2 separate regions of the Homo sapiens genome follow, and region 1 is linked to region 2. The links are contacts of gene promoters, found by promoter capture Hi-C in human tissues and cell types (Jung and others, 2019). All regions are on one chromosome and are shown on one strand. Each heading gives the region's core, a stretch centred on a gene start or on the middle of the fragment in contact. The rest is flanking DNA. Distances are from core to core; before and after follow the strand shown.

Region 1 (7,613 bases), core at 4,241-6,740, 43 kb after region 2:
CCAATCTGTATATCTAGCCTAGCACTGTCTCCTGCCATCCAGGCCCATTGTATGTCTAGCCTAGCACTGTCTCCTGCCATCCAGGCCCAATAACCTTCTGCCCACTGGGATGCTCACAGCCACTCAGAGCCTGCTCTTGCCTTCCTTATCTCAGGGAAGCCAGACCCCTGGGAGTTATCCTTGCCAGCAGCCACTCCCTCTCACTTACAGCCAGGCCGTCCCAAAGCCTTTGGATCCTGCCTCATCAGGGTCTCTTGGACTCATCTACTCTGCCCTCCCCAACTAGGGAGGAGGCCTAGCCCAGGCCTAGACCCCTGCAGTGGCTTCCTGTCATGTCTCCCTCCATCCTGCCAGTCCTTTGCCATGCTTCCCATTGCAGGGGAGTAATGTTTCTAAAACACACATCTGATTGTGTAGCCTCATGCTCAAAAGAATATGTCAGTGGTTCCCCGAACTTCTCAGGATCAAGAAGTTTAGTCTCCTTGACAGGGATTTAGGTCAACTTCATCACTTCCCACCTTCCCCTCACAAAACAATCTTTTTTTCTTACCTAATTCCTATTTTTTAACTTCAGCTGTCTGTGTATCTGGCCCTGCAGACAGAAAGCTTTCTCTGACTCCCTCTAAAAGTCTGAATTCTCTGACTGGGCGCTGTGCTCATGCCTATAATCCCAGCAGTTTGAGAGGCCAAGGCAGAGGATCTCTTGAGGCCAGGAATTCAAGACCAGCCCAGACAACATAGCAAGATTTCACCTCTACAATCAATCAGTCAATCAACCAATCAGCCAAGTGTGGTGGTGTACACCTGTAGTCCCAGCTGCTTGGGAGGCTGAGGTGGGAGGATTGCTTGAACTAAGGAGGTCAAGGCTGCAGTGAGCTGTGATCGTGCCACCGCATTCCAGCTTGGGTGACAGAACTAGACCCTGTCTTTAAAAAATTTTAAAAAATCCCCACAGAGTCTGAATTCTATCCCATCAGTGTGCCTCTCCCATGAATTACTGTGTCCTTTCCTCATGATGGCATCTGGCGCCATATGGTTAAAGCCTGCTTGCTTGTCTGTTTTCCTCAGTGGACTCGGAGCTTTGTGATTCACACTCACATTGCATCCCCAGGACCTAACATAAAGGGTCTGCTTAATATGTTCTAAGTGGGGTTAATACTTTGTAGAAACAAGCAAAAAAAAAAAATTTGTTAAAGCTGAAATTCATGTATCTGAAGAAACTGTATCTTCAGTGTTACCAAGAAGCCTCTAGTGAAGCTGCCCCAGTCCCTCACCAGTGATGGATGGGCACAGCTGAGCACAGTGTATTTTTTCCCAGAGTTTGTCCCTTTTGGCTCAGTCCTGAGCTCTTTATCTTTCACAGGCTCCCCTGTGAGGAATTATGTTCTGAGAGAAACCGTTCATGAGATGGATTCTACTTTGTTTCTCACTCAGGCCATGGAGAGTAAGTTGCTTGTTGGAGGAAAAAATATAGTAGATCATACGAATGAACAGCAGAAAATCCTGGAGCAGAAACGACAGGAAATTGCAGAGCAGGTAACTTTTCATTCTTTTTCAGGGAGAATGGGTGAGGTAAGGTGTGTTTATGCTGCAGAGCAAACGTCTCATATTAGACTCTCTTCAAAGAGAATGAGAGCAAGGTGTGTCTGCCTCATCCTAGCTGGAGACTCTGATCCTAGCTTGGGGAACCCAGCATAGACACAGTCTCTAGGGCAAGCTGATGAATTTTGTCATGTTGCTCAGAAACGTCGAGAAAGAGAAATCCAGCAACAGATGGAAAGTCGAGATGAGGAGACCTTGGAACTTAAAGAGACATACAGCTCATTGCAGCAAGAGGTGGACATCAAGACCAAAAAACTCAAAAAGGTATGAAAGGAATGAGGCCAGATGGAGTTGCCTTGAGACTTGGGGAAAGGGAGAACTCTACCCTTTGGACAGACACCCTCCTCACCTGCCTCTCCCCTCATTCCAGCTCTTCTCCAAGCTTCAGGCAGTGAAGGCTGAGATCCATGACCTCCAAGAAGAACACATCAAGGAGCGCCAAGAGCTAGAGCAGACTCAGAATGAGCTCACCAGGGAGCTGAAACTCAAGTAAGTGCCAGGCCTTCCATAGTGCCCCCAAGCCACTTGCTGAGTCATTGATCTCGTTTGTTTAGTTAGAAACAGCCCTGGCTGGGCTTGGTGGCCTACGCCTGTAATCCCAGTGTTTTGGGAAGCGGAGGCGGGCAGATCACCTGATGTCAGGAGTTCGAGACCAGCCTGACCAACATGGTGAAACCCCGTCTCTACTAAGAAATACAAAAATTAGCTGGGCGTGGTGGTGCATGCCTGTAGTCCTAGCTACTTGGGAGGCTGAGATAGGAGAATCGCTTGAACCCGGGAAGTGGAGATTGCGGTGAGTTGATATCGTGCCACTGCACTCCAGCCTGGGCGACGGAGTGAGAAAAAAACACAAAAAAAGAAATAGCCCTGAGGACAGGTCCTTCTCCAGCTCATCTCCTGCCACCCCATGTTCTGTTCATTCCTGAAAAAGTCACTTTCCATCTCTGGATCCCATCTGTTAACTGAATGACTTCATCAGGTGATCTCCAAGTTCCCTTCTAACCCTACCTTCTCGAAGCTTTTAAAGATTCTGGTCTTACATCTGTCTGATGATAAGAGGGAATATTTTATTAACTTGACTTTTTATTGTGACAATTTTCTGAATGGTATAATAAATACCCAAGTACCCATCACCCAGATTCAAGGATTAACAAGCTTTTGCCATCTATCTTTCACAAAAATATTTTAAAGCAAATCTTAACCTCATGTTATCTCACTCCTACATACTTATATATATATATATATGATCACAGTGGTTTTTTTTTTTTTTGAGACAGAGTTTTGCTCTATCACCCAGGCTGGAGTGCAGTGGCACAATCACAGTTCACAGCAGCCTGTAACTTGTGGGCTCAAACAGTCCTCCCACCTTAGCCTCCCGGGTAGCTGGAACTACAGGTGTGTGCCACTATGCCCAGCTAATTTTTAAAAAAAATTTTATAGAGATAGAGTCTCTCTATGTTACCTAAGCTGATCTCAAACTCCTAGGCTCAAGCAATCCTCCTGTTTCAGCCTCCCAAAGTGCTGGGATTATAGGTGTGAGCCACCACACCCAGCCCACAATACTGTTTTTAAAAAAGCTTAATTGAGACATACTTCACATACCATACAATTCACATATTTAAAGTGTACAAATCAGTCCGGGCATGGTGGCTCATGCCTGTAATCCCAGCATTTGGGAGGCCGAGGCAGGTGGATCACCTGAGGCCAGGAGTTCAAGACCAGCCTGGCCAACATGGTGAAACCCCGTCTCTACTAAAAATCCAAAAATTAGCTGGGTGTGATGGCGTGTACCTGTAATCCCAGTTACTCAGGAGGCTGAGGCAGGAGAATCTCTTGAACCTGGGAGGCGGAGGTTGCAGTGAGCTGAGATCACACCACTTTACTCAAGCCTGGGTGACACAGCGAGATTCTTGTCTCAAAAAAAAAAAAATTAAAAAATGATAAAGTATACAAATCAGTGTTTTTTTAAAAGCATATATATGCATAGGGCTATAAAACCACCACTACAATCTAATTTTAGAACATTTTTATTACTCTCCTCTAAAAGAAACTCTACCAGTTAGTAGTCACTCCTCATTACCCCCTTTCCCAACCCGAAGTAATCACTAATCTGCTTCCTGTCTCTATGGCTTTGCCTATTCTGGCCATCTCATATAAATGGAATCACACACTGTGTGGCCTTTTTGGCCTGGTGTCTTTTGCTTAGCATGACGCTTTCAAGGATCGTCCATGCCGTAGCATGGATCAACAGATATCTGGTAGTCCCAACATCAATTGTTCTTTATTATGACTGAATAATATTGCACTGTATGAATAGGACACATATTTATTTATTTTTCAGTTTATATACATTCCGATTATTTCTAGTCTTTGGCTATTATGGATAATACTTCTATAAGCATTCATGTATAAGGTTTTGTATGGATGTGTGTTTTCATTTCTCTGGGATACATTCATAGGAGTGGAATTGCTGGGTCATATGGTAACTCAGTGTTTAACTTTTTGAGAGAATGCCAAACTGTTTGCCACAGTGGCTGCACTATTTTACATTTCTACCACCAATTTCTCCACATCTTCTTTTTTTTTTTTTTCTTTGAGACAGTCTCGTTCTGCCACCCAGGCTGGTGTGCAGAGGTGCAGTCTCAGCACACTGCAACCTCCACCTCCTGGGCTCAAGCGATCCTCCCACCTCAACCTCTGGAATAGCTGGGACTATAGCGGCATGCCACCCTACTTGGCTAATTTTTGTGTTTTTTGTAGAGATGGGGTTTCACCATGTTGCCTAGGCTGGTCTCAAACTCCTGGGCTCAAGCAGTCTGCCCGACTTAGCCTCCCAAAGTGCTAGGATTACAAGTGTGAGCCACCATGCCCGGCCTCTCCACATCCTTGTCGACACTTGTTATTTCCTGTCTCTTTTATCATAGACATCCTAACGAGTGTGAAATGGTACTTCATTATAGTTTTGATTTGCATATTTCTCTGATGACTAATGATGTTGAGCATCCTTTCACGGGCTTATTGGCCATTTGTATGTCTTTGGAGAAATATCTATACAAATCCTTTACCCCATTTTAAAATGGGGTTGTTTCATATATATATATATGTATATATTTCGTATATATATGAAATATATATATTTCATACACACACACACACACATATGTGTATATATATAGTTTTTTTTTGTTTTGTTTTTGTTTTTTTTTTTTTTTTTTTTGGAGTTGGAGTCTCGCTCTGTCATCCAGGCTGGAATGCAATGGCGTGAACTTGACTCATTGCAACCTCTGCCTCCTGGGTTCAAGCGATTCTCATGCCTCAGCCTCCCGAATAGCTGGGAATACAGGCACCCGCCACCATGCCCGGCTGATTTTTGTATTTTTAGTAGAGATGGGGTGTCACCATGTTGCCCAGGCTGGTCTTGAACTCCTAACCTCAGGTGATCCACCTGCCTTGGCATCCCAAAGTGCTTGGATTACAGGCATGAGCCACCATGTCCAGCCAATAATTAAGTTTTAAGAGTTTTTTTTGAGACAGAGTCTGGGTCTGTCACCCAGGCTGGAGTGCAATGGCATGATCTTAGCTCACTGCAGCCTCTGCCTCCTGGGTTCAAGTGATTGTCCTGCTTCAGCCTCCCGAGTAGCTGGGACTATAGGCATGTGCCACCATGCCCAGCTAATTTTTGTATTTTTAGTAGAGACGGGGTTTTACCATCTTGGCCAGGCTGGTCTGGAACTCCTGACCTCAGGTGATCCACCCGCCTCAGCCTCCCAAAATGCTAGGATTACAGGCGTGAGCCACTGTGCCCGGCTGAGTTTTAAGAGTTCTTTATATTAATATATTATGAATACCACTTTCTCATGAGATTCATGATTTGAAGATGCTTTCTGTTATTCTGAGTTGTTTTTAAACTTTCTTGATGGTATTACTTATAGCACAAAAGATTTCCGTTGTGATATAGCCCAATTTAATTGTATTTTCTTTTGTTTATTTTACTTTTGGTATTGTATCTAGATTTGCCTTTTCTGGACCTTTCATATAAGTTTATAAATGAAATAATGTTGGAATAATGTGGCCTTTTGTGACTGCTTTCTTCATATGTGTGTGTGTGTGTGTGTGCATGTGTGTGTTTTGTTAGTTTTTTTTTTTTTTTAGAGATAAGGCCTTCTTCTGTCAATCAGACTGGAGTGCAGTGGTGCCATCATAGCTCACAGCCTTGACCTCTTGGGTTCAAGTAATCTTCCTGCTTGAGCCTCCTGAGTTGCTAGGACTTCAGTTGCATGCTAGCACACCTGGCTAATTTTTTAAAATTTTTTCATAAGGATGGGTCTTGCTGTGTTGCCAAAGCTAGTATAGTGTTTTCAACAGTCTTCCATGTTGTAGCATGTATCAATACTTTATTCATTTTTTATGACCAAATAATATTCTGTTGTATAAATATACCACATTTTATTTATCCATTCATTATTTGATGGACATTTGGGTTATTTCTACTTTTGGGTGTTATGAATAATGCTGCTGTGAACATTCATATTCAAGTTTCTTTTGTGGACGCATGTTTCATTCTCTTAGATCCTCTAAGAGGCTTATAGTGTTAGGTCTTACATTTAGGTCTATGATCCATTTGAGTTAATTTCTGTGTATGGTATGAGGTAGGGTTTCAAGTACAGTGTTTTGGATGCAGATATCTAGTTGTTCCAGCACCATTTGTTGAAAGGGCTTTTCTCTCCCATTTCATTGTCTTGGCATACTTATTGAAAGTCAGGGCCGGGCGCTGTGGCTCATGCCTGTAATCCCAGCATTTGGGAGGCCGAGGTGGGTGGATCACCTGAGGTCAGGAGTTCGAGATCACCCTGGCCAATATGGTGAAACCCTGTCTCTACTAGAAATACAAAAATTAGCCAGGTGTGGTGGTGCACACCTGTAGTCCCAGCTACTCAGGAGGCTGAGGCAGAGGAATCCCTTGAACCTGGGAGGTGTAGGTTGCAGTGAGCTGAGATCATGCCACTGTACTCCAGCCTGGGCAACAGAGCAAGACTCTGTCTCAAAAAAAAAAAAAAGAAAGTCAGTTGACCGTAATTAAGCATTTATTTATTTATTTCTGGACTTTCAATACTGTTCCATTGTTCTATATATCTATCCTCATGCTAGTACCATTCTGTCTTAATTACTATAGCTTTGTTAGTTTTGAAATCAGGAAGTGTGAGTCCTCCAGCCTTGTTCTTTTTCAGGAGTGTTTTGACTGTTCAGGGTCCCTTGCATTTCCATATTCAAACATACTTTGTTTTACTGCACTCTGCTTTGTTATAATTCACAGATATTACATTTTCTACAAATTGAAGGTTTGTGGAAACCCTGCATAAAGCAAGTCTGTTGGCACCATTTTTTCAACAGCATATGCTCTCTTCATGTCTCTGTGTAAGCATTTATTAGCAATAAAGTATTCTTAAAGTCTATACTTTTTGTAGACAAAATGGTATTATACATTTAATAGACTACAGTATAGTGTAAGCATAACTTTTATATGCACTGGGAAACCAAAAAATTGTGTTACTTGCTTTATTGTGATACTTACTTTATTGGAGTAGTCTGGAACCAAACCCACAGTATCTCTGAGGTATGCCTCTACATTTTAAGGTCAGCTTGTCAATTTCTGCAAACAAAGCCAGCTGGGATTTTGATATTGATCACATTGAATCTGTAGATCAATTTGGGCAATATTGTAATCTTAACAGTATTAAGTATTCAGATCCATGAACATGAGATGTCTTTCCATTTATTTATTATTTCTTTAATTTTTCTCGAGAATGTTTTGTAGTTTTCAGTGTATAATTCTTACACTTTTGTTAAATTTATACCTAAGGGTTTTTTGGGTGCTATGGTATATGACATTGTTTTCTTAATTTTATTTTTGGAATATTAATTACTAGTATATAAAAATACTGGCTGGGCATGGTGGCTCACACGTGTAATCCCAGCACTTTGAGAGGCCCAGGTGGACGGATCACCTGAAG
Region 2 (7,574 bases), core at 3,868-6,367:
CAGGGCAACTAGTGTTCTCACCATACAAGTCCAGTAGTACATGGTCCCACGTGGCCTCGCCTTTCTTATTAGTGGCCACTTCTAGAAACTTCCTGGTGATTTTGTGGCCTTCCTACTACCCTGCTAATAAATTCCTTTTCTGCTACCATCAGAATTGGTTTCTATTATTTATGATATCTATTATTATGATAAACTGACACAATGGTGCTCGCTGGAATTAGATCATTTCTAGGCTAGAGTTTGCTCTTGGGGAGGTAGGAAGGAGGATCTCTGCTCTGGTCCATGTGATCTCTCCAGGACCCTTTTTTTCCAGCCCCACTGGCCTCCTTCCTCTTTTTGCATCCTCACCATCTCTCCCCTTCATTGAACTGAGCAAATCTCCAGAATTGAGAGGTTTGGAAGCCCTACTCTGACTTTTCAAAACTTCTTTCATTCCCTGAGTCTCCTCCCCAAGATTCTGGGGCTCAGAAAGTCCTTTCTCTATTTTTCTACTGAAATAACTCTTTTCTGAGCAATAAATACCTCACAGTCCAGGTTAGATGGAAAAGAGGACACAGTATGGAAAGGAAATGCCAGGAGTGGAAACATACTTGGTAATATAGAAGTTACCCCATCATACTAGGGTGACCACTCATCCTAGTTTGCCTGGACTAAGGAGTTTCTTGGGACATGGAACTTTTGGTGCTAAAACAGGGACAGACCTGTGCAAACTAGAACAAGTTAGTCACCCTACAACTGTACAGCTACTACTACTAATCCCACTTCAATACACAGCTTTATTCAGCTTGCTAAGGACAGAATCAAGACCAGACCGTCATCAACAATGCCTTACCAAAGTTCTTTTTTCGGCCAGGTGCAGTGAGTGGGTCATGCCTGCAATCCCAGCACTTTGGGAGGCTGAGGCAGGTGGATCACTTGAGGTCAGGAATTCGAGACCAGCCTGGTCAACATGGCGAAACCCTGCCTCTACTGAAAAATACAAAAATGAGCCAGGCATGGTGGCACATGTCTGTAATCCCAGCTACTCAGGAGGCTGAGGCATGAGAATCACTTAAACCCGGGAGGTAGAGGTTGCAGTGAGCTGAGATTGCGCCACAGCACTCCAGCCTGGGCAACAGAGCAATATTCTGTCTCAAAAAAAAAAAAAGTTGTTTTAATTTTCATTTCTTTAATATGAGTAAGCATAAGTATCTTTCCTTTTCCTATGTTTAAAAGCAATATTTTCTATTCCTTTTCTCTGAACTATCTGTTCATACCTTTTACCTACCTGTTTAAAAAAATTTTTAAATAGTTTTTGTACATATTTATGGGGTACATGTGCAATTTTGTTACATGCATAGAATGTGTAATGATAAAGTCAGGGTATTTAGGTTATCTATCACCCAAGTATTTATCATTTCTATGTGTTGGGTACATTTCAGGTCTTCTAGCTGTTTTGAAGAACACAATACATTTTTGTTAAATAGCAGTAAACACATCCAGTTAAACATAGTGGATTGATGATGCGTATTTATTTTTTTCTCCCTCGAACCCCATCTATATGGCAATAAGGAATAAAAAATGTATTAACCCAGAACATGAATAGGAATGAAAAGGAGACATTAGTGGCCCAGGGATTTCAGCAAGTTTTTAGAAAACAGGGACAGAAGGGGAAGTAGTAACTGACTTAACAGGGGGAGGAAGTTATGACCCAAATGTCTGCAGGGAATATTGATTTGATGACTAAAAGGTGAGCCCAGATTCTTCCATAGAAGAGATAGACACTAAAAATAAAGATATGGATGGAAATCTCCCACAGAGTAGAACAAAAGAGCCAAAAAGAGGGACAATAAGAGAAAAACAGAGAAAATTAGAAACTCAGTTTGGAAAGTATAACTTCTGACTAAGAGAAATTCCAGAAAGAGAAAAAAATGGAGGGGAGAGCCAAGTCTGGTGTCTCATTCCTGTAGTCCCAACAGTTTGGGAGGCCGAGGCAGGGGGATTGCTTGAGCCCAGGAGTTTGAGACCAGCTGGGCAACACAGTGAGACCCCATTTCTACAAAAAATAGAAAAATTACTCAGGCATGGTGGTATGCACCTGTAGTCCTAGCTACTCGGGAGGCTGAGGTGGCAGGATCACTTGAAGCTGCAGTGAGCCATGATCATGCCACTGCATTCCAGCCTGTGCAACATAGCACAACACTGTTTCAGGGGAAAAAAAAATAGGAGGGGAGAAAATTATCGAAAAAATAATACAAGAAAATTTCCTAGATTAGAGGGATATAAGTCTCCAGATTGAAAAGGCCCAGCTAACACAAGTGAGGAAAAGCCTCACTGAGGGGAGTCATCATCAAATACAACATTATGGATAAAGATGATAGCCTAAAAGTTTTCAAAGATTAAAAATAAAAAAAGAACAAGACACATATAAAGCAACAGGATTAAGAATGGCATTAGATGTCTTAAATCTGGATACTAGAAACAATAATGCAATGTTTTAAAAATTCTGAGAGAAATAATTTTCAGCCTAGATTTCTTTTTTTTTTTTTTTTTTGAAATGGAGGCTCCCTCTGTCGCTCAGGCTGGAGTGCAGTGGTGCAATCTTGGCTTACTGCAACCTCTGCCTCCTGGGTTCAAGTGATTATCCTGCCTCAGCCTCCCCGAGTAGCTGGGACTACAGGCATGTGCCACCATGCCCAGCTAATGTTTTTTTTGTATTTTTAGTAGAGACAAGGTTTCAGCATGTTGGCCAGGCTGGTCTCAAACACTTGACCTCAGGTGATCTGCCTGCCTCGACCTCCCAAAGTGCTGGGATTACAGGCATAAGACATGGCGCCTGGCCTTCAGCCTAGATTTCTATACCCTGCTAAACTATTAATCAAGTGTGAAAACAGTATAAATGCATATTTAGACATACAAGGACTAAATATATTTGCTTCTTTGCAACCTTTCTCAGGAATCTACAGAAAGATGTGCTGCACAGAGATGACAGAGTAAATCCACAATCTAGAAGTTTGAGACACAAGGTCCAGGGCACAGGGAATCCCAACCAGGTGTAGGATATAGGAAAGTTCAGTATGACAGCTGTGCAGTAGGCCTGGAGAGCACTGGTCCAGATCAGAGCTGAAGCCTTCAGGAGAAAAAAACAAAAGAGAACTCATGAACTTTTTTTTTTTTTTTAAGTTGTTGTTGTTTTTGTGAGATGGAGTTTTGCTCTTGTCACCCAAGCTAGAGTGCAATAGGGTTATTTCGGGTCACTGCAACCTCCACCTCCTAGGTTCAAGCAATTCTCCTGCCTCAGCCTCCAAAGTAGTGGGGATTACAGGTGCCTGCCACCACTCCTGGCTGATTTTTGTATTTTTAGTAGAGACGTGGTTTCTCCATGTTGGCCAGGCTGGTCTTGAACTCCTGACCTCAGGGTGATCTGCCTGCCTCAGCCTCCCAAGGTGCTGGGATTATGGGCATGAGCCACCATGCCTAGCCGAATTGTTATGTTACACATCTGGAAAAATCACTGCTGATTATTTTGTCTAATTTATTAACCACATAGGAAAAAATTAACAATATCTGCAAAGAAAGCTAATGAAAGGGGGGAAAAAATGAGGCAATTATTAGCTTCAGGAAATACCAAAAGAGGCTGGGTGCAGTCTCTTTTGGTATTTCCTTTATTATTTTATTTAAAAATAAACTTCTTCACTGTAGAGAAAGTGTAAATCAAATTATGTGGGAGTTTTAATGGGCCAGGCCTGAGAATAGCACACATCACATTTAATTGGCCAGAACTTGGTCTGAACTGTAAGGAAGGCTGGGAAATACTGTCTAGTTGTGTGTCCAGGAGCAGGAAGAAATAACGTTTTTGAGAGGAAGTAGCAATATCTGCCACAACAGGCAAAAAGTAGTTGTAGGCAGATGAAGAAGACCATCTCAGGTATTCATTTATTCAAGGAGCAAAACATATTTGTTCAGCAACTACTATTGACTAAGCTTGGTTCCAGGCATGGTGGATACAAGAGTGAACAAATAAAAGACTGCTCTTATGCAGTTTCTATTTAGTGGGGAACAGCAGGTGTAAGTTCCATGGGGGTTGGAACCTGCCCTTCTAGGCCAGTGTGGTTGGAATAGAGTTTTAACGAATTTTGCAGGAAGTAATAAGGACTTCATATTTGATTCTAAGAGCAATGAGACTCCATTAAATCGAGTATTAATCAGAAAGTGGCATGATCTGTTTTATTTATTTATTTATTTATTTATTTATTTTAATCTTTATATCTGAGACGGAGTTTCGCTGTTGTCGCCCAGGCTGGAGTGCAGTGGTGCCATCTCTCTCACTGCAACCCCTGCCTCCCGGGTTCAAGCGATTCTCCTGCCTCAGCCTCCCGAGTAGCTGGGACTACAGGCATGCGCCACCACGCCCGGCTAATTTTTTGTATTTTTATTAGAGACGGGGTTTCGCCATGTTGGCCAAGCTGGTCTCGAACTCCTGACCTCAGGTGATTCACCTGCCTCAGCCTCCCAAAGTGCTGGGATTACAGCGGGAGCCACCGCACCTGGCCGCATGATCTGTTTTAAATAATTACTCTGGCCACCTTATGGAAAATGGATTGTTCGGACAGAGCTGGACAAAAGAATGGAAACAGACCAGATATTTCAGGCAGGCTAGAGATGAGCGTGGCCTGGCCTTGCCTGGGGCGGTTGTGACTGACTGGATTGGGTGAAGGACAGGAAAGCTACAACAAGGGTGCCTATAGGTGTTCGTATTGAGTCACTGGGGGCACCCTAAATGGGAGTTACCTCAGTAGCAGTTTGAGACACCAGTCAGATAATGGATGTGAAAGCTTTTAGAAAGGTTGAACGGCGGCTGAAATCGCGTGTGTTCCATTTACAGATGGGAAACTGAGGCACGAGATACCAGAGGATGGAGTCAGGCCACGTTGTGCGCCACTCTCCCCGCTTAGGTGGGTGAGGAGACCGAGGTGTGTTGGGCCCCCGCTAAACACCAGCACCGACCTGAGCCCCGCCCAGACCCCTCCAGCCGGCTTTCCCTGTCCTCTGCTCGTGTGCCAATAAAGTTATTGAAATTGACACCGGTTGCTAAGGAAGTGGGTCGCCGAGCCAGGTTGCTAAGGAAGTGAGCGGCCACTGTCTCTCCCCATCCGGGGCAGCGGGGAATGGCTGAGCCAGGGGTTCGCCGCCCCCGCCGCCGCCGCCGCCGCCGCCGCCGCCGCCGCCGCCCGCTTTCGGCTCGGGCCTCAGGTGAGTCGGAGGGGCCGGGCGCCCACCGAGCAGGGCTAATCCTGTGGCCGCCTGGGGTTTTCCCTGCGACCTGCGCCCGCGCCTCTGCCTGGCTTTGCTGTCCCGCGAGCCGGAGCATCCTCTGCCCTGCCTCCTAGGCATCCTTTGGTAGTCCGGACGGCCTTGCCCCTCCTTCCCCTGGCAGGGTCGCGGCCCGACCCCCAGACACGGCCACCTTGGGTCGCAGCCCACCTGGGGGCCCTGAGGCGGTGGTCAGGGCCCCAGTTTGGGAGGAGGGCGGGGAAGCGAGAGCCTGGGGTCCGAACCTCGGCGCTGTGCTGGGCTTGCTGTGTGACCTTGGGCAAGTCTTTTCACCTCCCTGGCCTTAGCTGACCTGTTTATTCAATGGGGTCCTAACATTGCTGCTCAGAGTGGTAAAGATAATGAGAAGTGTATGTGAAAGTGCCCTAAATGGGGAGAGGGAGAATTCTTAGGGCACCCTAGATGGGAGACCAAGAGGGCAGTTTGAAGTCTGAGCGAGTTAGAGACGTGGCATTTCCACTTAGTAACTGTGTGGCCCTGGGCAAGTTAATTTCTCTGAGTCTTCTTTTCCTTATCTGTGAAATGAGGTAATAGACTACTGTGGAAATCAGTGAGACTGGGTATGTCAAGTAGCTTGGCACATAGTAAGTGCTCAACCAGCTATTATGAGGCGTCCAGGGTAGGAGGGCAAGACTTCCAGGAGGAGATGACTTTGGGACAGGTAAGGTGTAGGTGTGTAGAGTGCCAGCTCATATGGGTAGTCCTACTGCAATGCCAACCCCCAACCCCGGTTTTACTTCTCCATTCTGCTCAGAGCAAGGGAGGTACTTCTACAAGTAGTCCTGGGAAACTCTTTGAGGTCAACCCCTTGTAGATAGCTGGGGTCATGGTCTCATTTTCTACCTGGGCTTCGTTGACCCTTCCAGAAGAAAAAAGGCATCTTTGTGTCCTTTGGGAAGTGCTTAAAGCAGTAATAACTATTTACAAGCATATGATTAAGAAGCACTTTACCAGGCATATTATTTCATTTAATCTTTATGTAGACTTTGCCAGGTGCCTGGTGATGTCATCCTCATTTTGCCGATGAGGAAACTGAGGTTCAGAAAAGTAAAGGGAAGGACCTGCTTAAGAATCCTTTTTTTTTTTTTTTTTTTTGAGACAGAGTCTTAGTCTGTTGCCCAGGCTGGAGTGCAGTGGCGCGATCTCAGCTCACTGCAACCTCCGCCTCGTGTGTTCAAGCGATTCTCCTGCCTCAGCCTCCCGAGTAGCTGGGACTACAGATGTTCACCACCTCGTCCACTAATTTTTGTAGTTTTAGTAGAGACAAGGTTTCACCATGTTGGCCTGGCTGGTCTCGAACTCCTGGCCTCAAGTGATATACCTGCCTCGGCCTCCCAAAGTGCTAGGATTACATGCGTGAGCCACCACACCCAGTCATTGCCTAAGAATCTTGTATCTATTAAGTGATGGAAGTGGACGTGTTTCTAGGTAAATCCTGTATTTTATCCCCCATTCACTGTTGCCTCTGATTTTGCAACAGTTGCTATTATAAGGCCACAGGGGTATTCTTTTGTTACTTTTAACTGGCTAGAAGTTAAAAGGCAAGGAAACAAGATCTCAGGTAAAGCTTTATTTAAATAGATACCACCCAAAGTGAGGATCTCAGAAAATAGTTGGAATCTTTTTTTTTTTTTTTGAGACGGAGTTTTGCTGTTGTTGCCCAGGCTGGAGTGCAATGGTGCCATCTCAGCTCACTGCAACCTCCGCCTCCCTGGTTCAAGCAGTTCTCCTGCCTCAGCCTCCCAAGTAGCTGGGATTACAGGCATGTGCCACCATGCCCGGCTAATTTTGTATTTTTAGTAGAGATGGGGTTTCTCCATGTTGGTCAGGCTGGTCTCAAACTCCCGACCTCAGGTGATCGCCTGCCTTGGCCTCCCAAAGGACTGGGATTACAGGCATGAGCCACTGTGCCCAGCCTGAGAGCTGGAATCTTTAAAAGAGGGCTTCTCTGTCCCTCATTCCCTCCTCATTAAAATGAGGGGACTAGGCTAGATTATACTGAAGGCCCTTTCAGTGCTGTTATGCAGTTGTGGTTAAAAGCTTGCAATCAGACTACCTGGACTAAAATCTTGGCTCTGCCACTTCCAAGCTGTGTGCTACTGAGCAAAGAGGTGCTACTTTACCTCTGAAATGATGCTCAGTACCTCTGAAATGATGAGAGGACTTTTTGGTAAGGGGCTCTGTGAGGAAGAATTATTCATAGTTCATTTTGAACCCCTTGGTGGTATAGTTTCCTCATCTGTAAAATGGGGATAGTAATA

The links. The method cuts DNA at HindIII sites, captures the fragments that hold promoters and counts their contacts. A contact is called where the count stands out against the background at its distance.
Region 1: a contact is called between a fragment that was not itself captured here and the fragment with the promoter of KIF3B in region 2, in 1 of the 25 tissues and cell types used here (psoas muscle).

The regions. Positions count from the first base shown.
Region 1 is chr20:32,314,784-32,322,396 of GRCh38, forward strand. KIF3B (kinesin family member 3B) reads left to right here. Exons shown (of 9, transcript NM_004798.4): 3 at 1,435-1,536; 4 at 1,744-1,866; 5 at 1,973-2,091. Among named protein-coding and RNA genes, the nearest start is that of ASXL1, 40 kb to the right of the region's middle. The HindIII fragment of the contact is 8,391 bases long and covers 1,296-7,613 here.
Region 2 is chr20:32,272,534-32,280,107 of GRCh38, forward strand. It overlaps KIF3B (kinesin family member 3B), which reads left to right and starts at 5,118. Exons shown (of 9, transcript NM_004798.4): 1 at 5,118-5,232. It overlaps LOC124904885 (a long non-coding RNA gene), which reads right to left and starts at 5,010. Exons shown (of 2, transcript XR_007067561.1): 1 at 4,771-5,010; 2 at 2,886-3,109. RefSeq lists enhancers at 4,874-4,923, 4,970-5,480 and silencers at 5,134-5,293, 5,314-5,493. The HindIII fragment of the contact is 2,728 bases long and covers 4,389-7,116 here.